Regions from separate parts of the Homo sapiens genome. Here all the other regions are linked to region 2. Evidence: promoter capture Hi-C in human tissues and cell types (Jung and others, 2019). All regions are on one chromosome and are shown on one strand. The core of a region is centred on a gene start or on the middle of the fragment in contact, and the rest is flanking DNA. Distances in the headings are between cores, read along the strand shown. Region 1 has its middle 11 kb from the start of BSDC1. Region 2 holds the start of TMEM234 (transmembrane protein 234). Region 3 overlaps TMEM39B (transmembrane protein 39B). Region 4 has its middle 33 kb from the start of BSDC1. Region 5 has its middle 12 kb from the start of TMEM39B. Region 6 overlaps KHDRBS1 (KH RNA binding domain containing, signal transduction associated 1).

Region 1 (3,873 bases), core at 1,353-3,852, 180 kb before region 2:
AGTTTTATGAAAATGGTTATATGGCCCCAAAGGATGCTGGAGAAGGAAATTCCTCAATAGGCAGAACTGTAAGCAGTGCATTTCATTGTCCACTTTGCCTGGTAGGAAAAATGGCCTGAGGTCAGGATCTATACCAGTTCACGAGCCAATGACAAATAGTGTGAGTAGCTCAGCATCTTAAAAGATTGCAAGTTAATGACAAAGAGGTTTGGGAAAGGTGGATTTCCTGGAATGGTCACAGATCATGAGACAGCAGGTGTGCCAAATGATTGCTCACCATGGGCCCCCGCTGTGCAGGAAGCTTTCACTAATCAGCAGATCTGTTCTGTGGATATTAACTAGATGGCCTTTTCCACCAGCCAGTCCAGTTCTTGTTCAATGGGTTCATGGACAAAGGACGATAGTGACAGGAGTGGAAATTATGCATAGGCCCAAGAACAGGGACATCCCTGTCCAAGGCCGTCCTGGCAACCACCACTACTGACCTACTGATGCCCTGTTTGCCTACAGGAGCAAACAGTCCTGGACTCTTGATGTGATGTCATACCTTGAGGGAACAAACCAACTATCTGGTGGCAGATCAATTACATAGGACCATGTCCCTTGTGAAGAAGGAACAATTTGTCTCACCGGTGACAGTGCTTACTCTGGGTTTGAATTTCCTTTCCCTGCTTCTCATTCTTCTCTCAGAACCTCCATCTATGGACTTAATACACAGTCTTAGTGTCCCACACAATATTGTTTCTGACCATGAAATTCACTTCACAAGAAAAGAAGTGAGAGTGAGCAGACACCAGAGGATTCACTAACCTGAGCTCCATCAGCCAGCCTTCTAGAGTGGTGGCAAAACCTACTGAAGGTCCAGGTAATCTACCAGCTGTTAGATAGCACCCTGTGAGATACAGCACTGTTAAAAGGATGCAGTATATGCTCTGAACCAGTGTACCATTTCTTCCTTAGCCAGATACATAGTTCAGAAACCAAGAGCTGTGTGTAGGAGTGGTTTCTTTCACACTTAGACTTTTTTTTTTTTTTGGAGACAGGGTCTCCCTCTGTCACCCAGGGTAGAGTGCAGTGGTGCAATCTTGGCTCACTGCAACCTTCACTTCCCGGGCTCAACTGATTCTCCTGCCTCAGCTAGCACCACAGGTGTGAGCCACTATGCCTGGCTAACTTTTTTTTGGTATTTTTTAGAGACAAGGTTTTGCCATGTTGCCCAGGCTAGTCTCAAACTCCTGGCCTCAAGCGATCCATCTGCCTCAGCCTCCCAAAGTGCTGCGATTACAGGTGTGAGCCACTGAGCCCAGCCCACAGTGAAACTTTTTGACTCACTCATAAGTTATTTGCTTCTTGACTCTATGACTGTAGGGAGGGGAGGTATGTTAAAAGCTTTTAGTGTCTAAGAGAGAAATGCCTCCATCACGTGACACAAATTTTCAACAAATTGGAAGTTGAAATTGCCACTCAACCTTTTTGAGTATCTCCTGCCACTGAACAGACAGGCCAAAAAAAAAAAAAAAATCAAGATATTTTCTAGAATTTTTTTTTTTTTTTTTTGAGACGGAGTCTCGCTCTGTCGCCCAGGCTGGAGTGCAGTGGCGGGATCTCGGCTCACTGCAAGCTCCGCCTCCCGGGTTCACGCCATTCTCCTGCCTCAGCCTCCCAAGTAGCTGGGACTATAGGCGCCCGCCACTACGCCCGGCTAATTTTTTTGTATTTTTAGTAGAGACGGGGTTTCACCGTTTTAGCCGGGATGGTCTCGATCTCCTGACCTCGCGATCCGCCCACCTCGGCCTCCCAAAGTGCTGGGATTACAGGCGTGAGCCACCACGCCCGGCCATTTTCTAGAATTTTATACTCTAGTTACCAAGCGGAAATAGGTTGTTACCACTGAGTGGAGGCAGGGAGGTTTAGTGATAGACTTTGCTATATTTCCTAAGGATCCTACAACTACTGCAATATTCTGTGATCAAAGTCACGGCAAAACTACTGCAATTCTATACAAAAGGATCTTCTAGGCCACAGATAGCTCAGGAATGAAGGGGTGGGTCTCTCCTGTGGCTAAATAACTTGAACATCTGTTGCTGACTGAAGGCAGATGGAACCTAGAATAGATAGTAAAGAAGGAAAGTCATAAATACAAGATCAGCCTTAGACTGCTTTATATGGGGGGGGGGCGGATTATAGTCTCTACTTGAATTTCTTTCCTTGATGTAGATATTTACATATTTCAAATACTTTTGCTTCTCTTTCTTCTCCCTTTCTGCCACTATCGTCTCTAGGTGGTTTTATAGGGAGATTAACTTCACCATTCAGTGATGGATTGCAGATTCCTAAGCAGGAATTCTGAGAGCCGGAGGACAGTCGTCAAGGCTTTGGATGCCTTCTTTGGAGAGTAATTAAAACAGTGTTTTTAATTACAGAAGTGGTAGCTACTTTATGCTAATTGGGAAGCAAGTCTAAGTTCAAAACACAGAGTATATGTGTTTGGCAGCAAATGGGGAACAGGACAGTTGATGTTCGGGCTATCTGCATCCAAGCCCAGTCTCCCTTTTGGGAAAAAACCCTCACTGTTGTAGTAAGAATATTCCACTTCCCACCTCCCACCTCCCTTACACAGAAGCCAGAGGGAGCTAAATCTTTCCCCACTCCCAGAAATAGCCAAGAAGGAGGCTTATGGTGTGTGAGTCCCAAAAACAATGCTGGAGGTGCCCAGAAGAATATTATTATTGACTGAATGCGGTGGCTCACGCCTGTAAGTTTAGCACTTTGGGAGGCTGAGGCGGGTGGACTGCTTAAGCCCAGGAGTTCAAGATCAGCCTAGGCAACATGGCAAAACCCTGTATCTATAAAAATACAAAAATTAGCCAGATGGTGGCGTGTGCCTGTGGTCCCAGCTACTTGGGAGGCTGAAGTGGGAGGGTGGCTTGAGCCCAGGAGGCAGAGGTTGCATTGAGCCGAGATCGTGCCACTACACTTCAGCCTGGGAGACAGAGTGAGACCCTGTCTTAAAATATATATATATTGCCGGGTGTGATGGCACATGCCATGTGATGCATGTGATGAGTAATCCCAGCCACTCAGGAGGCTGAGGCAGGAGAATCGCTTGAACCCAGGAGGCAGAGTTTGCAGTGAGCCTAGATCGCGCCATTGCACTCCAGCCTGGGCAACAAGAGCAAAACTCCATCTCAAAATATATATATATATAATCTATATAATATATATTACATATTTTGCTATATTTCCTCTGAGCCAGTCCACAGTGCCATCTTTTGGGAACTCTGGTAACAGAGCCACCCTGGAGACAAAGTTCTTCTTTGCTCTTTGGGCTACAATATTCCACCCCTTTGGTTGTTCTAAGAATTCTATGAGACAACAGTGCCTAGCACACAAAGGATGCTCCCCTTTTGTCAATTATAAAGTGATACGTAAATATATGGGAGTCTGGGGAGAACAGGGCTTTGCTCAAAATCACATAGGACATTAGGAGTACAATCAGGACCCGTGTATTCTGGTAAAAGTTTAACAATTGGCTTGGCGGAAGAAGGGGCATGATTTGTATTGTTTGTGGATTTTAATGATTAAACACTCCCACCTTCATCAATTTTAAGGTGCCAATGTGACATCAATCACTGAATGCAGAGTTGAGGAGAGATATCTCCTATTAGGCCGGGCATGCTGGCTCATGCCTGTAATCCCAGCACTTTGGGAGGCCGAGGCAGGTGGATCACCTGAGGTCAGGAGTTCAAGACCAGCCTGACCAACATGGTGAAACTCTGTCTCTACTAAAAATACAAAAAAATTAGCCAGGCATGGTGGCATGCACCTGTAACCCCAGCTACTCGGGAGGGGGAGGCAAAAGAATCGCTTGAA
Region 2 (3,801 bases), core at 1,302-3,801:
CAAGATTGTGCCACTGCACTCCAGCCTGGGTGACACAGCGAGAGAATCTGTCTCAAAAAAAAAAATCAGCCAAGCATGGTGGCGTGCGCCTATAATCCCAGCTACTGGGGCTGGCTGAGACAGGAGAATCCCTTGAACCCGGGAGACAGAGGTTGCAGTGAGCCGAGATAGTGCCATTGCTCTCCAGCCTGGGTGACAGTGAGACTCTGTCTCCAAAATAAGAAAAAGAAAAAAAAAAAAAAAAAGAAAACTTAATCTATGCTTCCTCTACCATGGCGTGTATTTTCTCATCTATCTTTCTTGTCTCTTATTCCCTAGACTGGAAACTATCTATGGATTTCATCTCTATTTTCCTAGGACCTGTTTACTCAAACAGGTACACTGTAGGTCCTCAATATTTGCTAAAAAGGTGAATGAACCCAGCTTACCTGTTTCACAGTCCCAGAGACGACAGCTGTTGTCAGCTGAGCCAGTGAGGACATGCTTGGTGTCCCCTGAAGAGTTGTTAAGAAATATGACGAAGTTCACCCGAGCCCTTGTCCTCTTGGGATGCCAAGTGAATCATCTCCCTGTTCAGCCCCAAAGAGCCTTTCTACCCCTCTTACCTCCTTATCCAGAACTGGAATTTGTCCTGAATGTTTCCTCAGTCAGTGAAGAGACCAGGGAGTAGGAGGTATCGTTCTCTAGGCCCTCAACAGCACCCCCAACTCCCAACTCCCAACTCAGCCTCTCCATCGCTGACAGACCCTAGCAACACGGACTCAGACCCAAAATAAGGATACAGTCAGCGTCCACACACCACACAGCTCCGGTATGGCCCATGTAGGTGCCCAGCCTCTCACCATTCACAGAGTACCATACATTGACGATCTGGAAAAGTCAAACCACAGGATAGTACACATCCCAGTAAGAGCAATGGCTTCCTATTTTGCCCCAGGAACCCTCAGCAGCCTGTAGCAAGGCTGATTCTGCCCTCTTCTGTTTATTTCTTGGGAAACAGCAGGGAGCTGGTAAAAAGACCAACTCCTGGATTCTCCTCCCTTCCTGAAGGGAAGCAACAGAGGAGTCAGGCGGCTTGTAAAGGCATCCTCATTTGTTAGCTCCAGCTCTCCTGGGACTCCCAACGGCTCCAAAGAATAAAAGGCCAAGTTGAGCTCCAGTCCAGAAAAACAGTATCTCTGATGTCTTATCCAAGTGGGAGCAGCTGGTAGTAAGGAAGTCTGGGTTCTGGTGCCTGCTCTGCCACTGTCTCACTATATGATCTCAAATACAGTGCTTCTCTCCTCTGAACTTCAGTTTTCTCATCTTGAAAATGGCCAGGCCGGGTGTGGTGACTCATGCCTGTAATCCTAGCACTTTGGGAGGCCGAGGCAGGCGGATCACCTGAGGTCAGGAGTTCAAGACAAGCCTGTCCAACATGGTGAAACCCCATCTCTACTAAAGATACAAAAAATTAGCTGGGCATGGTGGCACGAGCCTGTAGTCCCAGCTACTAGGGAGGTTGAGGCAGGAGAATCGCTTGAACCTGGGAGGCAGAGGTTGCAGTGAGTCGAGATCGCGCCACTGCACTCCAGCCTAGGCGACAGAGCGAGACTCCGTCTCAAGAAAAAATAAAATAAAATGGCCAGGTGCCTCAAAAGGCAGTATCATGAGGGATTGTTTGGCATTGAGTAGCAGGATGGGATTGACTTAAAATGAGACTAGAGACACCCTCATTAAGTTCCCTGTGTCTGAATAACACAGCCTGCACCTATCCTGGTAGAAAGATTAGATTATCCCTAAAGGTCGCATCCCGTTCTCTGGGCAAGCTGACCCTCATCTTTATCCCCTTTCCACAGTGGTCTCTTGCTTTTCTTGGAGTGCAGTGGCACGATCTCAGCTCACCGCGCTCAAGCGATCCTCTCGTTTCAGACTCCGAAGTAGCTGAGACCACAGGCGCGAGGCCACCATGTCAGGCTAATTTTTTTGTGTGTAGAGATGGGTCTTACTACGTTGCTCAGGCTGGTCTCCAACTCCTGGGCTCAAGCGACCCTCCCACCTCGGCCTCTCAAAGTGCTGGGATTACAGGCGTGAGCCACCGCACTCGGCCAATAGAGTTCTTCCCCACCTTTCCCGGTAGAATACTTTCGCCAACCTACCCCCGGCATGGCCTCTCCCTACTTCTCACAATGGGCTGCTCTTTGGTTCCCCGCTAACGGCAAAACTGGCGTGTCCACCCATCGTCCTGGCAGAAGGATCCCGCCCCTCCCGGACCCCCTCCAGCCAACACTCACAGGGTCCTTGGCCACAGTAAAGAGGAGGTCTCCTTCGCGGTTATACTTAATCTGCGTAATGGACCGCTCATGGCCCTGCAGTAGGATCGGCTTCTGTGGGGACAAGACAGTAACGTCAGTGCTCGGAATTGGGCCCCAGCCTCAGCCCAGGACCCCCACTGCAATACCCCTAACTCTGAAACTCACCATCCCGGCTGTGACGCGAGGAAGGCCGCAACGTGAGTAAGACCGGAAAAGGTTTCGAGGTCACTTCCGGATTATGGGTCTCCGCCCCTTCGTTCCCGGAAGTAGAAGACAGCGGCGTTGCCATGGCGGCGTCTCTGGGTAGGTAGCCGGCCCCGCCCTTCCATGGATTTCCCGACCCTCGCCTCGAATTCATTTCCTGCTCCACATCCACCCTCTAACCCCGACCCCTGCTACAACCCCAGAGGCCGGACTCCTGGATTCATCTCCCTAGCTTCCCTGGGCCTGCCTTAGCCGCCAGTCGCAGCCGAGGCGAAGAGAGCGAAGGAGGGAAGTGGGGGCGGCTAGCTGGGGCTAGAAGGCCAGGAGAGGGCGGGGTGGGCGGCCGTTTGGGGTGGGGGTCAGGGTGACTCACTCGTCTGCATTCAGGGCAGGTGTTGGCTCTGGTGCTGGTGGCCGCTCTGTGGGGTGGCACGCAGCCGCTGCTGAAGCGGGCCTCCGCCGGCCTGCAGCGGGTTCATGAGCCGACCTGGGCCCAGCAGTTGCTACAGGAGATGAAGACCCTCTTCTTGAATACTGAGGTGCGTCTCTGTGAAAGGCCCCTCTCTCGGTGGAGTTGCCGCCAAGAATTTGGTCTTTGGAGTCAAACAGGTCTGGGTCAGCCCCACCACTTACTCACTAGAAATTCTCGGAAAAGTCAGTTGTCCTTGAGCCTCAGTTTCATCATCTGTAAATGGCGATTATAATAATAACCATCTGATAGGTCAGTTGCAGGAATTAGGTGAGATACGTAGAGCACTTAGCATTAGGCCTAGAACATAGTAAGTGCTCAATCTATGGCTGCCATTATTCACATTTTATTGTGATTCCTTCAGTTACATAAGGCAACATTTGTGAGCCTTTCCAGAGGGAGGGCTTGGGGCTCAAATTGGCCCTGCAGGGGAGGAGTTCAGAGGAGGAAGGCTGGAGCTGGAGGACTTGGGGAAGGCTTCCTGGAGGGGCTGACATTGGCTTCAAGGCCTTGCAGGATGGGAACTAGCAGAGGTGAGGGAGAGGGTAGTTTGAGCAAAGGCACAGACTTCAGTCTGTTTCCCTCTTTGCCCTGGAAGGATCCTCCTTAGAGGGATTAGTGTTCTCTGGGTCCTTATAACCCTGCCTCCCTCCAAGGAAAGACATTCGCTAGGAGCTCAAAGAAGGCAGTGCTGCTCAGTCAGGCCATCACACTGACTGCAGGTTTCTCCTCTTTCCAGTACCTGATGCCCTTTCTCCTCAACCAGTGTGGATCCCTTCTCTATTACCTCACCTTGGCATCGACAGGTGGGTCCTGGCTTGGAACTGTTCTGCT
Region 3 (4,232 bases), core at 1,441-3,940, 140 kb after region 2:
AATTAGCTGGGCGTGGTGGTGCACACCTGTAATCCCAGCTACTCGGGAGGTTGAGGCAGGAGAACTGCTTGAACCTGGGAGGCGGAGGTTGCAGTGAGCTGAGATTGTGACACTGCACTCCAGCCTGGGTGACAGAGAGAGACTCCATCTCAAAAAAAATAAAAATAAAAATAAATAAATAAAGAGGTCCAAGACTGTAACTCTGTAACTACAGAGAAGAAATGTCATGTATGCATACTACTGGGCCCTGGAGTGAATGATATTTTCATACACATAATTATATCAAAGCCACATACTGGTTTTTAATTTTCAGAATTAGGCTTAGACAAAGAATGGAAGGCTTAAATGTGGTTACATAGGAGAATGTGAATGTCAAGCTTGACGATATAAAAGTAAAAATACAGCTGCCAGGAAGTGAAAAGAGGAAGAGGGGAGGAAAAGTGGTTGGATAGGGTGCCTAATATTCTTGTCTTACATAAAAAGTATTCAAGATACTATTGTTGATGGAAAAAAAAAGTATAGGGATACTTATACTATTGATGAAAATAACCAACAGAAACTTAAAAATATTAAAAGCTATCAATTACTGGGAACAGTAAGGATGGGATCGTGAGCTAAATCATCTGTCATTGCAGGGAATCAATATACTTGCATATGTGTGTATGTGGTATGTTTGTATATGCGTAGAACATTTGTTTCCAGGATATACAAGAAACCAAAAACATTGATAATTACCTCTTGGAAAGGAAACTGGGTGGCTGGGAGGCAGCAGTCAAGGGGAGACTTTTTCATGGTATACTCTTTTAAACCTTCTGAATTTTAACTATGTAAACCTCTTATTCAATTCTAAAATAAATCAATAATTTTCTTTTTTTTGAGACAGAGTCTCACTCTATTGCCCAGGCTGGAGTGCAGTGGTGCAAACTCAGCTCGCTGCAACCTCCACCTCCCAGTTTCAAGCAATTCTCCTGCCTCAGCCTCCCAAGTAGCTGGGACTACAGGCGTGCACCACCACACCTGGCTAATTTTTGTATTTTTAGTAGAGAAAGGGTTTCACCATGATGGCCAGGCTGGTCTTGAACTCCTGACCTCAAGTGATCCATTCACCTTGGCCTTCCAAAGTGCTGGGATTACAAGCGTGAGCCACCACGCTTGGCCAATAAATAAATTTTTAAAAAGAATAAGCAGGCTAGGTACAGTGGCTGATGCCTGTAGTTCCAACTACTCAGAAGGCTGAAGTGGGAGGACGGCTTGAGCCTGGGAGGCAGAGGTTGCAGTGAGCCGAGATTGCACCACTGCACTCCAGCCTGGGCAACAGAGCCAGACCCTGACTCAGGGTCTTGTCACTCAGGCTGGAGTGCAGTGCCACTTTAGAACTGGATAATAGGTTTACAGACTCTGTCTGTAAACAAACAAACAAACAAACAAACAAATAAAAAAACCCAGAAAGTAAAAGAGACTGCTATTGAAGAGTGGGACTAAAAATCTGGAGGCGGGATTGGAGACTAATGTTTTTCTATGAAGAGTGGGACTAAAAATCTGGAGGCGGGATTGGAGACTAATGTTTTTCTATTTATTTATTTATTTATTTTTAGAGACAGGGTCTCACTCTGTTGTCCACGCTGAAGTGCACTGGTGTGATCATGGCTCACTTCGGCCTCAAATCCACCAGCTAAAGCAATCTTCTCACCTCAGCCTCCCAAGTCACTGAGATCACAGGCATGAGCTACCGTGCCCAGCAATGGTTTTCATTATAAGCTTTTCAGCACTATTGGATTTAATTTTTTACAATATGTTTATATTTGGTCAATAAACATTTTTAAATTAAATAATGAAAAATAAAGCATAATATGACATTGGGTGTTATCTGCATCCATGAAGAAAAGATTCACCAGGTAGTAACCATAAACTGTCAAATTAAGGCAACTCTTTTTTTTTTTTTTTTTTTTGAGACAGAGTCTCACTCTGTTGCCCAGGCTGGAGTGCAGTGGTGCAGTGGTGCGATCTTGGCTCACTGCAAGCTCCGCCTCCCAGGTTCACACCATTCTCCTGCCTCAGCCTCCCGAGTAGCTGGGACTGCAAGTGCCATCCACCATGCCCGGCTAGTTTTTTGTATTTTTTTAGTAGAGACGGGGTTTCACTGTGTTAGCCAGGATGGTCTCAATCTCCTGACCTCGTGATCCACCCGCCTCAGCCTCCCAAAGTGCTGGGATTACAGGCATGAGCCACCGCGTCCGACAGGCAACTCTTAAGTTCTAACCAGTGCAACCCTTTCGAAGGACAATTTGTTAATAACTATGAAAAATCTAAATGAATCCATCTTTTGGTGTAGTTAATTCTTCTGGGAATCTACTGTGCAGAGATACTGGACACATATGCAATTATTCATTGTTATGAATAAGGAAAAGCTAGAAACAACTTAAAAGTTTGCCAGTAGGCCAGGCACGGTGGCTCACGCCTGTAATCACAGCACTTTGGGAGACCAAGGTGGGCGGATCACGAGGTCAGGAGATCGAGACCATCCTGGCTAACACGGTGAAACCCCATCTCTACTAAGAATACAAAAAATTGCCGAGCATGGTGGCTCATGTCTGTAATCCCAGCACTTTGGGAGGCCAAGGCAGGCGGATCACCTGAGACCAGCCTGACCAACATGGAGAAACCCCATCTCTACTAGAAATACAAAATTAGCTGGGCTTGGTGGAGCATGCCTGTAGTCTCAGCTACTTGGGAGGCTGAGGCAGGAGAACTGCTTGAACCCGGGAGTTGGAGGCTGCAGTGAGCCAAGATTGCACCACTGCACTCCAGCCTGGGCAACAGAGCAAGACTCCATCTCAGAAAAAAAAAAAAATTGCCAATAGAAGACAAATAAATTGTGAAAATTCTATAACATAGAATACTGCGAGGCCATTAAAAAAATGAGGCAGCAGGTCATGATGGCGCATGCCCATAGTCCCAGCTACTCAGAAGGCTGAGGTGGGAGGATTGCTTGAGCCGAGGAATTCTATGCTATAATGTGCTATGCCGATGAGGTGCCTGCATAGAAGTTCAGCATCCATATGGTGAACTCCTGGGAGTGGGGGACCACATAATTGCCTAAGGAGGGGATGAACTGGTCCAGGTTAGAAATAGAACAGGTTGGCCAGGCGCGGTGGCTCATGCCTGTAATCCCAGCACTTTGGGAGGCCGAGGCGGGCAGATCATGAGGTCAGGAGATTGAGACCATCCTGGCTAACACGGTGAAACCCTGTCTCTACTAAAAATACAAAAAATTAGCTAGGTGTGGTGGCAGGCGCCTGTAGTCCCAGCTACTCAGGAGGCTGAGGCAGGAGAATGGTGTGAACCCGGGAGGTGGAGCTTGCAGTGAGCCAAGATTGTGCCACTGCACTCCAGCCTGGGCGACAGAGCGAGACTCCATCTCAAAAAAAAAAAAAAAAAGAAAGAAATAGAACAGGTTAAAACTCCTGTGTTGATCAGTAGTGGGAACAGACCTGTGAATAGCCACTGCACTCCAGCCTGGGCAATACAGCAAGACCCTCATCTCTAAAATAAAATAAAATAATGAGACAGACCCGTATGTATTGGCATAGAAAAATATCTGTTATATGATTAAGTGAAAAGTGTGGTAAATTGTACATCATGCATAGCATAATACCATTTTTCTTTTTTAAAAAACTGCATGTGGCCAGGCACAGTGGCTCACATCTGTAATCCCAGCACTTTGGGAGGACAAGGTGGGCAGATCACTTGAGGCCAGGAGTTCGAGACCAGCCTGGCCAACATGATGAAACCCCAACTCTACTAAAAATACAAAAAGTAGCCAGGCGTGGTGGTGGGCACCTGTAATCCCAGTTACTTGGGAGGCTGAGGCAGGAAAATTGCTTGAATCCAGGAGGCAGAGGTTGCAGTGAGCCGAGATCGTGCCACTGCACTCCAGCCCGGGTGACATCAGACTGTCTCAAGAACAAACAAACAAAAAAACTGCATGTGTGTGTACTTGCACAGAAAATATTTTGGGAAAATTGCTGCCAGTAATGGATTTCTGGGGGAATAAGACTATGTGGGACTTTCTTTTTCCATGTTAAAAGCTTCTGTAAAGTTTAATGTTTTTATAAGACATTATAATGTTTTTTTTTTTTAAAGACAGGACCTCACTCCAGTTGCTTAAGCTAGAGTACAGTGGCACAATTTCGGCTCACTGCAGCCTCGACCTCCTGAGCTCAGGTGATTCT
Region 4 (4,185 bases), core at 1,563-4,062, 200 kb before region 2:
TTTACAATACACGTGGCTGGCAGAGAAGGGAAGATGGAGCTGCCATCTTAAACATGTCTAGTCCTTAGTTCTTTCCTGCCAGCATTCACCCATGCAAGCTCCCAGCTTGCAGGCTGCTCTTTGTTAGAAAATGATTTGGAGGGCCGGGCACAGTGGCTTATACCTATAATCCCAGCACTTTGGGAGGCTGAGGCCAGCAGATCACTTGAGGTCAGGAGTTCGAGACCAGCCTGGCCAACATGGTGAAACCCCGACTCTACTAAAATTACAAAAATTAGCCGGGCGTGGTGGCACACACCTGTAGTCCCAGCTACTCAGGAGGCTGAGGAATGAGAATCACTTGAAGCTGGGAGGCAGAGGTTGCAGTGAGCTGAGATTGCACCACTGCACTCTAGCCTGGGCCACAGAGCAAGACTCTGTCTCAAAAAAAAAAAAAAAAAAAAAAAAAAAGAAAGAAAGTGATTTAATGATTTGGGGCTGCTTTTCATTAAAAAGAAAAGCCTTACCGAGGACTCCCATACCCTTACTATCTGCCTAAGTAATTTCTTCTTAACTCCTGTATCATTCCCCGCTCTGGAGTGGTAACCCTAACTGCTGTTAGGGAGTGTTGGGCAATGACTCTTTCTGGCTACTTCCTTCTGAAAAGGGGCGTTGTGTGGGGAACAGCAGCTAGGACTCCTCCTGAGGTCTATCTAAGGGTCCTTGGAAGAAAGGCGTGCTCATGCATAGTTCAGTCTGCAGCAGCATTTGGAGTTTGATTGCTTCTAGGCAAGAGGAAACAATTTGAGTTATAATATTGAGCAGACAAGGTCACATGAGCAAGAGAGGGCTTAATAATGGAGCTAACCAGTTCCACAAAGAAGACTGGAATTCATTAAAGAGGGATTGTAGCCATCCAGGGCTGGAACCTGCATTTTCTCTTGACCTGTCAATGATTTTTACTTGATCTTTAAGCATCTGTAAGTTTTCTTCTACTTGACTAAAGGTGTTTATCCAGAAGCAGCATGTTTCATTTAAGACTGCACAGGTACCCCACCTTTGCTGTAAGGACATCGAGGGCCAGTCGATGGCTAAAGAGTCTATGGATTGTTGTGCTTCCACAGCTCCTAATGTTGCCTTCCATCCTCGTTGCATCATAATGGAAACATTAAATGCTGACCTTTCAAGGAGAGGAATACCAGCAAACCGGAAGAGGCCTCTGGTTATGGAATTCCCCATCCATGGTCCTTCTAAGATGAGATTGTCATGTGTGTGCCCTCCCAATCTTCTCTTTCAGTTAAACCTCTACATGAGGGCATGGAAATGATAGGTCTCTTTGCTCAGCGTATTCAAGATAGTGCACTTTTTTTTTGAGAATTACAATAGGTACCTTTTATTGAAAGCTCACTGTTTGCAAAGCAGTGTACATTCATTATCAAATTAAATCATCAAAAAACCCTAAAAAGTAGGTGTCAGTATCACCTGCACTTTGTGATTGTGCCAGACAATGAGTAATAAAATAGGTAAGAATGGCTGTGGGTGAAGCCAGCTGAGTTCTCGTTATAGTCGCATTTCAGGAAATTATTTAACATGCTGACTTTAACAACCTAAGCGTCTTCTCCATGTGTGCACATAGGGTAGACCTCTGAGAGTGGCGCTGTAGCTTCTAGGGTAAAGGCTGTGTTAAGTCAAGGCAGGATGACATTTTGGCCTCCTCCCAGGCTAGTGCAAAGGGCTGTTCACTCGCATTAAGGCCTTCTCTCTCAGACTGAATTGCCCACACCCCAAAACCTGTCCTACAGAAAATTTGCAGTCCTCGCTTGTTGCCTGGCAGCCCGTACCTAATAGGGCGGTGAATTAATTATCAAACATGCAACAAAGGGTATCGAAAGTTTAGCGAAAATGGCAACATTTTGGAATAAATGACCATAATGTGTGTTCTGCCTGCCACCCTAACTGGCGCAGATTTTGCAGGTCAGTTGTTTTCCCTGGAAGCCGTATTGGCCAAGAGGAGGAAGATTATCTCTCGGATTTCAGCTTGGAGGAGAAAGAATTCAGGCTGCCAGAACTGGACTAGCACCTCTGAATATCCCGAGGTGAGGTCCCGTGACTTCCTTGGGAAGCTCTGCCGCGCCTGCACCCCACCCCACCCAACCCTACACCACCACCACCACCACCACCACCACCACCACCACAATAGGCTGCTGGAGTCTTGGGACCACCAAGGTCTGCTGCCCAAATCCTTCCTCGCTTAGGGGAGGGGAGGAGTGTTCCTGCGGGGCGGGGCGAGAAGGGAGGCTTGGGCAGGATTGTGGGATGAGATCGCCCTGGTGACGCGGAGCGGATCTAGACCTCACCTAATAAAATTTGCTTATAAAGGAGGGGGCGGTGCCCACGGTTGCTAGGGGCGCTAGCGTCTTGGGGCTGCCAGAATGGCTCCAGCTCTGTGCGCGGCGCCAGCGCATGTCACGTCCCGGCTGTGCCTCTGGCTCCCACGACCCCCTCCTCACGTAGCAACTATTGTGGCTACTCGTCCAGGCGGCTCAGCCTCTGGAGTGGGTCCAGGACCCGCTGCAGCTGATCTCCGATGCCCTGTGGCCGATGAGCCCTTGTTTTCCCGCTCCTCTGATCTCCCACCCGAATCGCCCCCATGCGCTTACCCTCCCCCCACCACGCAGACCCGGGGCCTTTGAATACCTGGGGTCCTCTGCTTCCTCCCAGATGTCAGCTCTGCCTCAGGAATCGACTGAGACTTTCACCAAGACTTTGGTTCCATTCCTGGACACGGATACAGCTGGAGAGCTGCCCCCGTGGCCAGAGCAGTTCGTTGCTGCACACCAGGATCTGAATGACAAGCTGACTCGGCAAGAAAGGCTCCCAGAGGTGGTCCCAATGCTGGACTGGGATCAGAACCAGGCCCTAGCTCGGACTCTTTGCCTCAAAAGTAAGGTTAAAACTGCAAATCTAGATCAGGCTGCAGATCATCAGGCATATGAAATACTTGTTCTACCTCTGGATAGAATTCACAAGCAACGAAGCTTATTGTTTGGCCCAAGAACCTGAAGAAAGGTCTAGCTTAGCATCGGAGGCTTGCTAAGGTTGTGGCTGGAACTCCACACCGATTTGTATAAAAACCTCAGCGTCAGAAACAAACTTTGCAGGATATTTAGATGGAAGTATGGATATACTGTATCCAGGCACCCTGTCCCCAGAACTCCAGGTGAACTCAGACGAGCCTCCAGGGCCCCCTGAGCAAGTTGGACTTTTTCAATTTCACCTAGAGCCCGAAACTCAAAATCCAGAGACCTTGAAGAGATCCAGTCCTCTTCACTCCAGCAAGAAGCCCCAGAGCAGCTTCCACAGCTCCCTGGGGAGGTAGAACCTTCTTCAACCCAGCAGGAGGCCCCAGCTCTGCCTTCACAGTCCCTTGAGAGGGTCTATTCTACTTCAACAGAGCAGGAGGCCCCAGCATAGCAGCTACCTGCCTCCGAAGAGATTGTAGCTCAGCCATCAATACATCATGAGGTAAATGTTCTATTTAGAAGTTGGAGTGAAGCAGCTAGGCGCGATGGCTCCTGCCCGTAATCCCAGCATGGGAGGCTGAGGTGGGCAGATCACAAGGTCAGGAGTTCGAGACCAACCTGGCCAAGAGACCAGCCTGGCCAGTATGGTGAAACCCCATCTCTACTAAAAATACAAAATTAGCCAGGCGTGGCGGCAGGCGCCTGTAATCCCAGCTACTTAGGAGTCTGAGGCAGGAGAATTGCTTGAACCCGGGAGGCAGAGGTTGCAGTGAGCTGAGATCACGCCACTGCACTCCAGCCTGGGCAACAGAGCAAGACTCCGTCTCAAAAAGAAAAAAAAAAAAGTTGGAGTGAAGCTCAGCACTCACACTTGCCCAGTGTCACAGTCAAACCTGTGGATGTGGAGCTTACAGTAACTCCAGAGCCAGGTAAGGAACTTACGTCAAGCCAGGAACAGGCCGCAGCTCAGCCTCCAGAGCACCCTGAGGAGGTGGACTCTTCCTCAACCCAATTAGAGGACCCAGCTCAGACACCAGAGCACCCTGAGGAGACGAAACCTTCTGCAACCCACCAAGGGACCCCAGCTGAGCCTCCAGGTCCTCCTGTGGAGGCTGAACTTTCCCCCAGTGAGCAGGAGAAGCCAGCTCAGCATTCTGAATTTCCTGGGGAGGTGAACTTTCTC
Region 5 (3,913 bases), core at 236-2,735, 160 kb after region 2:
TCTGAGGGGCTGAGGAAAGGGAAGGCAAGCAGGTAGAGCAACAGCCTGCTTGTCAAGCTGCAAGCATTGGCTCTTGGCCAGGCCTCATACCCACTCCTCCAGGGCCAGCTCTGCTGCCAGGCCCCAGGCTGCCAGCCCTACCTCCACACTCCCACCCCAGTCCCCTGAGAGCCCATCACCTTGGCAACAGCCAGAGAAAGGCCCAGCTAAAATATTTATGGCTCAAAACAGCCTAGAGGCTTGGGAGGGGGGAAGAGGGAAAGGCTGATGTCATCCCTTCTCAGCTTACAGGGGAGGTGACTGACATACAGGGCAGCTGGGTGGGTGGGCCAAGCCCAACAAGTCAGGGCTCTCAAAGGAAGATCCCAAGGGCCATAAGTGGTAACAGGAGGAGGACGAAGACTGTGACAGGTGACAGGACTGGATAAGACCCACAAGCCTGGGAAAAAAGGAGGAAGGAAACTTAAAGGTTGAGCAGTATTGTGTCTAGACCCCATGCCAGGCATTTCAAACACATCATTTGCTTCTCAGATCCCATTCAGTACGTAGCAATTCTTTTTTTTTTTTTTTGAGATGGAGTCTTGCTCTGTGGTCCAGGCTGGAGTGCAATGGCGCGATCTCGGCTCACTGCAAGCTCCGCCTCCTGGGTTCACACCATTCTCCTGCCTCGGCCTCCTGAGTAGCTGGGACTAGGGGCGCCCACCACCACGCCCGGCTAATTTTTTGTATTTTTAGTAGAGATGCGGTTTCACCATGTTAGCCAGGATGGTCTCGATCTCCTGACCTCGTGATCTGCCCACCTCGGCCTCCCAAAGTGCTAGGATTACAGGCGTGAGCCACCGCACCTGGCCAGTAGGTAGCAATTCTTATCCTACTTTGATGGAGTAAACAGGCCCTACAGCTCTTCTTAAAGCAAAAAAAAAAAAAAAAAAAAAAAAAAAAATTAAAACAAGCTCTGGAAATATGCAAATGATGAGCTGGGATTTGAATTCAGATCTGTTTGGCTTCAGCCCTGTAAGCTTTCCTATAAAATTCTGTGGCTCCCGAGTAGAAATCCTAGCAGACTGAAGGTATAGCGATCTAGGAACCTAACACCAGCTCCTCAGTCAGTGACTCAGGTTCTGTGCCTCCATTTATATATGATGAAGATGCCATCTGATTCCCTAATTCCCCACCCCAAACTCCTCCCTTGTCAGCCCTGGACTCAGAGCATCCAATGTAAACAACAGGGTGACAAACTCATCGAGGCTGGCCTGTGACTTTTCTAGTTTTAGCACTGGATAGTCCCATATCCCAGAAACTCTCTCTTGGGTAAACCTAGATGATCTGTCATCCTAGACGAACCCCTCATGCAAACATAATGCTTTAATATTTCAAAGCACTTGTGGCTGTGAGAGGTACAAACAGGTCAAAAGAATAGGCCATGAAGTCTGATAGTATAGACCATGAAGTCTTTTTCTAACCATAGGCAAATTTTTTATCCTCCTTGAGTCTCAGTTTTTCTTATTTTCCTGGTACATACTAAGAAATCAGTAAATTATTAGCTGTTATTTACAGTAATCAACAATGATGACAGAAACAGGCTCAGAGATTAAATAGCTTGCCCAGTGTAAATCAACTGACTTTAAGGAATCCCTTTCCATTATACTTCTGTTCCTGCTAAGGATGAATCCAAGCTCACTAGAATGCCCCAGGCACAGTTAAAATGCAGATAGGCTCTATTCTCTCCCTAAACTCAGTCCTTCCCCTTGTTCCTTTGTTAGGATAAATAACCAGAAGGCATTAGGGAAGAGTACAGTATCAGAGGTCCCTAGCCTCTCAGGAAGCTGAGTATAAATCAACCTAGAAATAGGCCAGAGGAAACCAGAAGCCTATCAAAGGCTGACTTTCCAATCCTTCAAGGGAAAATGGCAGAACAAATAGCTGGCCTAGTATAGCTGGAAGGAAAGTGAGAGCTAAACAAGGGGGCTTTGGCTCTCTCCCAAAGCTGATAGAAGCTACCAGAGTGGGACCATTCATCACTTGACCAAACCTTTATTGAGGTCCTCAGGGGCAGATATTTGTTGGGGAGAAATATAGTACAGAGGTGGAACAGAAAAAGCCCTACCCTTTATGACCTTTTTGGACAAGGTAAGTAATAAACAATGAAGAGAAAAACAGGTTCAGATGTTAAATAACTTGCCCAAATTAATTGAATCTTCTCACTTGGCTTTCCTCAGCCTTTTATGGAAGGGCAGTGATCACCCTCCCTTGGGAGCCCTCTGGAAGGGTTCAAGGACTCACAGGCTGACACCCATAACACAGGTGTGGTAGTGGGGAAACAGAAAACGGTGGTAGGGTGTTTCAGCCAATTCTATGGGAGGCTAAAGGGAAGCACACATACTGGGAATGGCACAGTAGGAGTTGCCAGTTAATTCCCATCTAGGAGGCCATGCTAGGGATACCCATTAGTCCCCTTCAACTCTTTAAAGTCTTGAACAGTTTAATTGTTAGCACCACAGTCCCCTGCAGCCCTGAGGACTCCATTCTGGGCCTAAAGACTCTTAAGGGATCCTGACTGGCTTTCTGTGGGTAAATCTGACAGATCAAGTAGAGTGAAAGAAAACTGCTGATCTCCTCTCCTGGGTTTCTCTGTGTTCAGCAAATGCCCTCAGGCCAGCCTTTATACAGCAGGTAGCTCTCCAGGTTTCAGGAGTCCTCTGATAGCTGCAAAGACACAAGGTAGAAAATTAAGAAAGCTCCCTATTAGGGGGCTTCCCAGCCTCCCACCTGACCAGGATGCTTCCCTCACAATTGCCCCATCCCACAGCACAACTCTACTTGTTTCATTCAGTACACAAGTTTCTTGGGTACACAGATGGGTAGAAAACAGAAGTCCACAGCCTATGAATTCTCTTTTTACTGTCTGTCTGGTAATGAAAATGCAGTCTCACGCTCAATATCTCCTGTCCTTGGCCATATCTCAGCTGAGTGGATCCAGGGAAGAATCAACAAAACCTTTGGGGGGCCTATCCAAGCTTTGAAGCCTCTATAAACAAAGGGAAAAATGCTTTCTGCTGTCCTAGAAATGTGAAAAAGATGAACAAAAATCTTTAAAGTCTTTTGAAGAATGGAAATCAGAAAATAGGCATCTTATTATCACTATTATTGGTAACTCAATGTTAGGCTCAAGGGGCGATGGATGTTATGAAGGATTCATCCCAGCACCAAATACTCAGGGTGGACTAGAGGAGACGCATCTTAAATCTGCGGCACAGGGAAGGGGCTTGATCTCATGCTAAAACCTATAGCAATGCTCCTTCTTCTTCTTCTTCTTTTTTTTTTTTTTAAAGAAAGAGTCTTGCTTTGTCACTCAGACTGGAGTACAGTGGCAACATCATGGCTCACTTCAGCCTTGATCTCCTGGGCTAAAGTGATCCTCCAACCTCAGCCTCCATATACGATCACAGACACACACCAACATCCCTGGCTAATTTTTAAATTTTTGTCTCCATATGTTGCTCAGACTGGTCTCAAACTCCTGGGATCCTCTTAATGGCTTGCCAGAGTGCTGGGATTATAGGTGTGAGCCACCATGCCTGGCCAGTGCTTCCGATCTTTTAAATGGCGCTACCATCTCCCTTAGTTGTTCCAGTCAGTAACCTGGAGCCTTAATATGTTCATTCTATCGCCTAAAAGGTTTTGTTTTTTTTTTTTTTTTTTTCTCCTGAGACAGAGTCTCGCTCTGTCACTCAGGCTGGAGTGCAGGGGCATAATCTTAGCTCCAGTACTGCAGCCTCTGCCTTCTGGGTTCCAGTGATTCTCCTCCCTCAGGCTCCCAAGTAGCCGGGATTACAGGCACGCACCACCATGCCCAGCTAATTTTTGTATTTTTAGTAGAGATGGGGTTTCACCATGATGGCCAGGCTGGTCT
Region 6 (4,080 bases), core at 359-2,858, 190 kb after region 2:
AATAGTACCATTTCCTATTTATTCAAAGTAATATTCCAACCAAGTATTCAAAGGTGGTAACAAGCAAGATAGATAAACTGGCCTGTCCCATCTCTATCTAGTCCTCAGTAATAGTCTGAAAAAAGCTGCTCACCTATCTGTTAAACATCAATAGTCAACCTCTTCCAAACTAAACTCGTCCTCAGCAAACTCCTCCAGGAAAGAAATCCCTGAGTGTGCTCAGGTCAGAATTTAACCCAATAACACTAGATGCTATAAGCTTCTTGCTGCTAGTCTCTACTCTCTACAGCATGAACTTCTTGAGTGCAGAGACCCACCTTAGTCACTTTCCTAACACAATCTCCTTGTTCCACACTACTACCAAAATACTCAGCTAGGTGAAGACCCTGTTAAACCTTAGTTAACCAAATATCAGAATGCAGGCACACTGTGGACCCGAGATACTGACAAGATACCGGTACACAATGAAAACCACATTAGACAAGGAGGGATAGAGTGGCCTTGGAGCATAATGCTTTGAGAACTAGGTGCAAGTAACGAACTACCTAAGGAAAATGAACATAAGTGCAGAATTTGGTATACATACAGGTTATGCAGAGACCTTAGTTAAGAACCCCTACCTTCACAACAGTATAAGATCCCAGTTCTCTTTTGCTCAGAAGACACAGGATATGGATTTCCTTACCGGTACTAGAAATTTCTTGACTTCCTCCATGGCATGGGCCATAAGAGCATAAGCCTCACATGGGGGTCCAAAGACTTCAATGAAGACATGCAGATCCATATTCAAGTGGGCATATTTGGGGTCTCCACCTTTGCGCAGCTCTTCCTCCTATGGAAAAATGCAGAGAAATGTCACACCATGGACTAGGGAGAAAACACCACCTTTACCTCTAAGCCAAAGGAACAGCAAGAAATACCCCTAATGTCCATGAAAAACAGTAAAGTTAATTGGTATGAGCTGAGAAGAATTAAACAAAAAAAGAAAAAAGAAAAAAGAAAAACAGTAAAGTTTAAGAAAGTAAAACAAGCAGCCAGGCGCGGTGGCTCACGCCTATAATCCCAGGACTTTGGGAGACTGACGCGGGAGGATCACAAGGTCAGGAGTTCGAGACCAGTCTGACCAATGTGATGAAGCCCCGTCTCTACTAAAAATACAAAAATTAGCCGGGCATGGTGGCGCACGCCTGTAATCCCAGCTACTCAGGAGGCTGAGGCAGGAGAATTGCTTGAACCCGTGAGGTGGAGGTTGCAGTGAGCCACTGCACTCCAGCCTGGGCAATAGAGCAAGGCTCCCTCTCAAGAAAAAAAAAAAAAGTAAAACAAACTCTCAAGAACAGTAATTTGCACAGCCTGCTAAACTTGCACATGGTCTGCTGCTTACAGTTAATTGTTGTCTTAAATCCCTGAGATATCCATTGGAGCTCCTACTAAAAGCATAAAGAAGAAAAACTTAATTCTAGTCTATTCAGATAATAGCTGTTTGCCAAGCATTTGTTTTTAAATCACAGGTAGAGCTGTTAATCACCACGAGCTCTGCTTATCTGCTTATATGGTCTAGGGAGTGGTAGGGGAAGAAAGAAGTCAGGACAGAGGGAAGAAAAGCTCATGTAAATCTCATTAGTTAGAACACACTTCAGCCGTAACTATATGCATCTAGCAAGAAATGACCTGAGAAAACAAACATGTGTCCATTAGACTACATAAAAGGAGGGTTGAAAGAATTGGTTTTTGGACTGTAGCAGGAATATCTCATCAAATAAGGTGACCCCAGAAGGCTAAGACTATTCTGTTTTGGTGAGAAGTTTCTTGTCACAGAGTACACAGCGTACGCGGCTATGGCATGGGGAAAAAAAAGACGCATTAGATTCTGTAGTCAGGATTACTCATGGTTCCTTTTGGAATACATTCTTTTAGTGAGCCTCACATTCCAAACCGGCTATAAAACAAACCAACTAATCCTCAAACTCATCTGCTCTCACATTATTGTTCTCACTTTTCCAGGTTACAAAAAAGGGGGTGTGCTATTTGCATTTTAGCGTCTTTTGTCTGCTTTAGACTAAATTTTAGTATATTCAGTTCCCCTTTCAAGTTTTCACAGACAATCCTACCAATGCGCAACATGCTACTGCTGTTTCCATTACTACACAGTCAAAAAGTCCAAAAGAAAACTATCACCAGGGCACACCTAGGCTCTTCCAGGGTTGCCAAGCCAAGTAAATTAACTTGGTGTATAATCTCTTGCATCCAGTGCAAACTTAAAGGAGCCACATTCTGTACACATACAAAATTCTTGCCGCCTCTATAAGACATCCATACTGCATTCTGGGCAAGTAGAAGGCATTAGGATGTCCTCTTGCCTCACTAATGTGAGCTTACCTTGGCTTTGTCTCTCATTGAGCCCTTTCCCAATACAGAGATCTTTGCACCAGTCTCTTCCTGCAGTCTTTTGATTGTATTCCCTTGTGGTCCAAGAATCTTCCCCACAAAATTGAACTGACAGAAAATAGAGGATTTCTAAATATACATGCTACTATATAAAAACATTTCCACATAAATTACCTCACTTGATTTTAAACAACCCTGCAAAGGTAGAGTATTACCATTCCCATTTTACTGAAGGACACTGAAGCCATATTAATAAAGTGATTAGCTTAAGGTTATGAAACTAGAAAGTGGCAGTTCCTAGACCTGAATTTGGCTTTTCTGATGTATTCTGGTGCTCTTCCATAATACATTAAGACCTTTACTATTTTATTTTTTACTTTATTTTGAGACAGGCTCTCACTCTGTTGCCCAGGCCAAAGTGTAGTGACACAATCATGGCTCATCACAGCCTCAACTTTCTGGACTCAAGTGATCCTCCTGCCCCAGCCTCCAGAGTAGCTGGGTACAGGTGCACACCACAACACCAGGCTAATTTTTGTATTTTTTGTAGAGATGGGGTTTCGCTATGTTGCTCAGGCTGGTCTTGAACTCCTGGGCTCAAGCAATCTGCCTGCATCGGCCTCCCAAAGTGCTGGCATTACAGGCATGAGCCACTGTGCCTGGCCCAGCACTTAACATACATCAACATTTTTAAGGCAGTGACCTCAGAACAGAAGAGACTATATAGCACCCTTTGATAACACGCTGGATAAACTAAATGTAACTAAATGCTTTCCTAAAAAAAAAAAAAGGAAGAAAAAAAGCATTTACTTAAAAGTAAACTTTTAGTAAGAAAATAAAATTAACTTCAACCAATTGAGGATTCATATTATATTTCCTTTTATTTAGATTTCAGGTTAGTCTTTTGACAAAGAGCAACTCTTCAGGTTTTAATTTTTTTTTCTTTGAACTTGTAGCCTGAGCAATCATTTGAGAAAGAAACTTTTTGATAATAAAAAGATGATTATATTTCCTTCCTGGCTATAGCTATGTTATTAGTTAAGAACTTAGATATTTCAACTCTCAGTAACAGGTACTACAAGCATGAAAGAGAAGCTTCACAGGCTTAAGTTTCTAAAGCATCACAATCCCCAGGAGTCTTTATTATAGCCCATGACTCTCTCATAACTATAAAGATAACTCAAAGATCCAAAGCACTTTTTGCCTTACCTTGGGATACTGCTTGACAGGTATCAGCACTCGCTCTTTCAGTTTCATGTTCTTATGAGAAAATAAATCCAAGTAATTCTCCTCATCATCCTTTTTTGAGTCTCCTTTCTGAATCTTCTCAATTTCTGAATAGGAAAAACAATTTATTTTTGCCCTGGTAAATAAATGCAAATTTTGAAGTCTGCTTAAAGCAATAACATGGAATACCATATAGTGAAACCAAATAGTTCACACAAATGTGCCAATTTCAGAAAGAAACTAGCTGAAAGCACTAAAGCTATATGAAGTTGACTAGAAAGCCCAAAGCCTGCTTCTAATAAAAGAAGTGTACTCTTCCACCCTCACCTGAAGCCATGACAACAGAGACATTTAAATGTTTCTTAAATCAATTTAACAAAATTAATTGGGTGAGATGGGGGAAAGGAGAATAAAGAAACAAACAAAAAAATCAAAATCTGCATCAAGACAAAGTATAATCTTACC

Evidence for each region. The method cuts DNA at HindIII sites, captures the fragments that hold promoters and counts their contacts. A contact is called where the count stands out against the background at its distance.
Region 1: a contact is called between a fragment that was not itself captured here and the fragment with the promoter of TMEM234 in region 2, in 1 of the 25 tissues and cell types used here (hippocampus).
Region 3: a contact is called between a fragment that was not itself captured here and the fragment with the promoter of TMEM234 in region 2, in 1 of the 25 tissues and cell types used here (spleen).
Region 4: a contact is called between a fragment that was not itself captured here and the fragment with the promoter of TMEM234 in region 2, in 1 of the 25 tissues and cell types used here (spleen).
Region 5: a fragment that was not itself captured here is called in contact with the fragment with the promoter of TMEM234 in region 2 in 2 of the 25 tissues and cell types used here (aorta and spleen).
Region 6: a contact is called between a fragment that was not itself captured here and the fragment with the promoter of TMEM234 in region 2, in 1 of the 25 tissues and cell types used here (spleen).

The regions. Positions count from the first base shown.
Region 1 is chr1:32,403,346-32,407,218 of GRCh38, reverse strand. No RefSeq gene overlaps it. Among named protein-coding and RNA genes, the nearest start is that of BSDC1, 11 kb to the right of the region's middle. RefSeq lists an enhancer at 1,014-1,093. The HindIII fragment of the contact is 3,514 bases long and covers 846-3,873 here.
Region 2 is chr1:32,221,103-32,224,903 of GRCh38, reverse strand. TMEM234 (transmembrane protein 234) reads left to right here and starts at 2,551. Exons shown (of 5, transcript NM_019118.5): 1 at 2,551-2,597; 2 at 2,886-3,037; 3 at 3,707-3,773. The coding sequence starts at 2,582. EIF3I (eukaryotic translation initiation factor 3 subunit I) reads right to left here and starts at 2,497. Exons shown (of 11, transcript NM_003757.4): 1 at 2,460-2,497; 2 at 2,274-2,366; 3 at 783-870; 4 at 429-494. The coding sequence starts at 2,462. RefSeq lists enhancers at 2,169-2,802, 2,079-3,278. The HindIII fragment of the contact is 14,812 bases long and covers 1-3,801 here.
Region 3 is chr1:32,078,392-32,082,623 of GRCh38, reverse strand. The region is part of intron 5 of TMEM39B (transmembrane protein 39B); the gene reads right to left. Among named protein-coding and RNA genes, the nearest start is that of MIR5585, 6.4 kb to the left of the region's middle. The HindIII fragment of the contact is 3,244 bases long and covers 1,069-4,232 here.
Region 4 is chr1:32,425,305-32,429,489 of GRCh38, reverse strand. It overlaps the pseudogene LRRC37A12P. Among named protein-coding and RNA genes, the nearest start is that of BSDC1, 33 kb to the right of the region's middle. The HindIII fragment of the contact is 5,832 bases long and covers 1-4,185 here.
Region 5 is chr1:32,058,956-32,062,868 of GRCh38, reverse strand. It overlaps a transcript of KHDRBS1 not described here. Among named protein-coding and RNA genes, the nearest start is that of TMEM39B, 12 kb to the left of the region's middle. RefSeq lists enhancers at 107-401, 1,416-2,028. The HindIII fragment of the contact is 6,151 bases long and covers 1-3,913 here.
Region 6 is chr1:32,029,940-32,034,019 of GRCh38, reverse strand. It overlaps KHDRBS1 (KH RNA binding domain containing, signal transduction associated 1), which reads right to left. Exons shown (of 9, transcript NM_006559.3): 2 at 3,598-3,722; 3 at 2,380-2,496; 4 at 686-832. Among named protein-coding and RNA genes, the nearest start is that of KHDRBS1, 18 kb to the right of the region's middle. The HindIII fragment of the contact is 5,442 bases long and covers 1-4,080 here.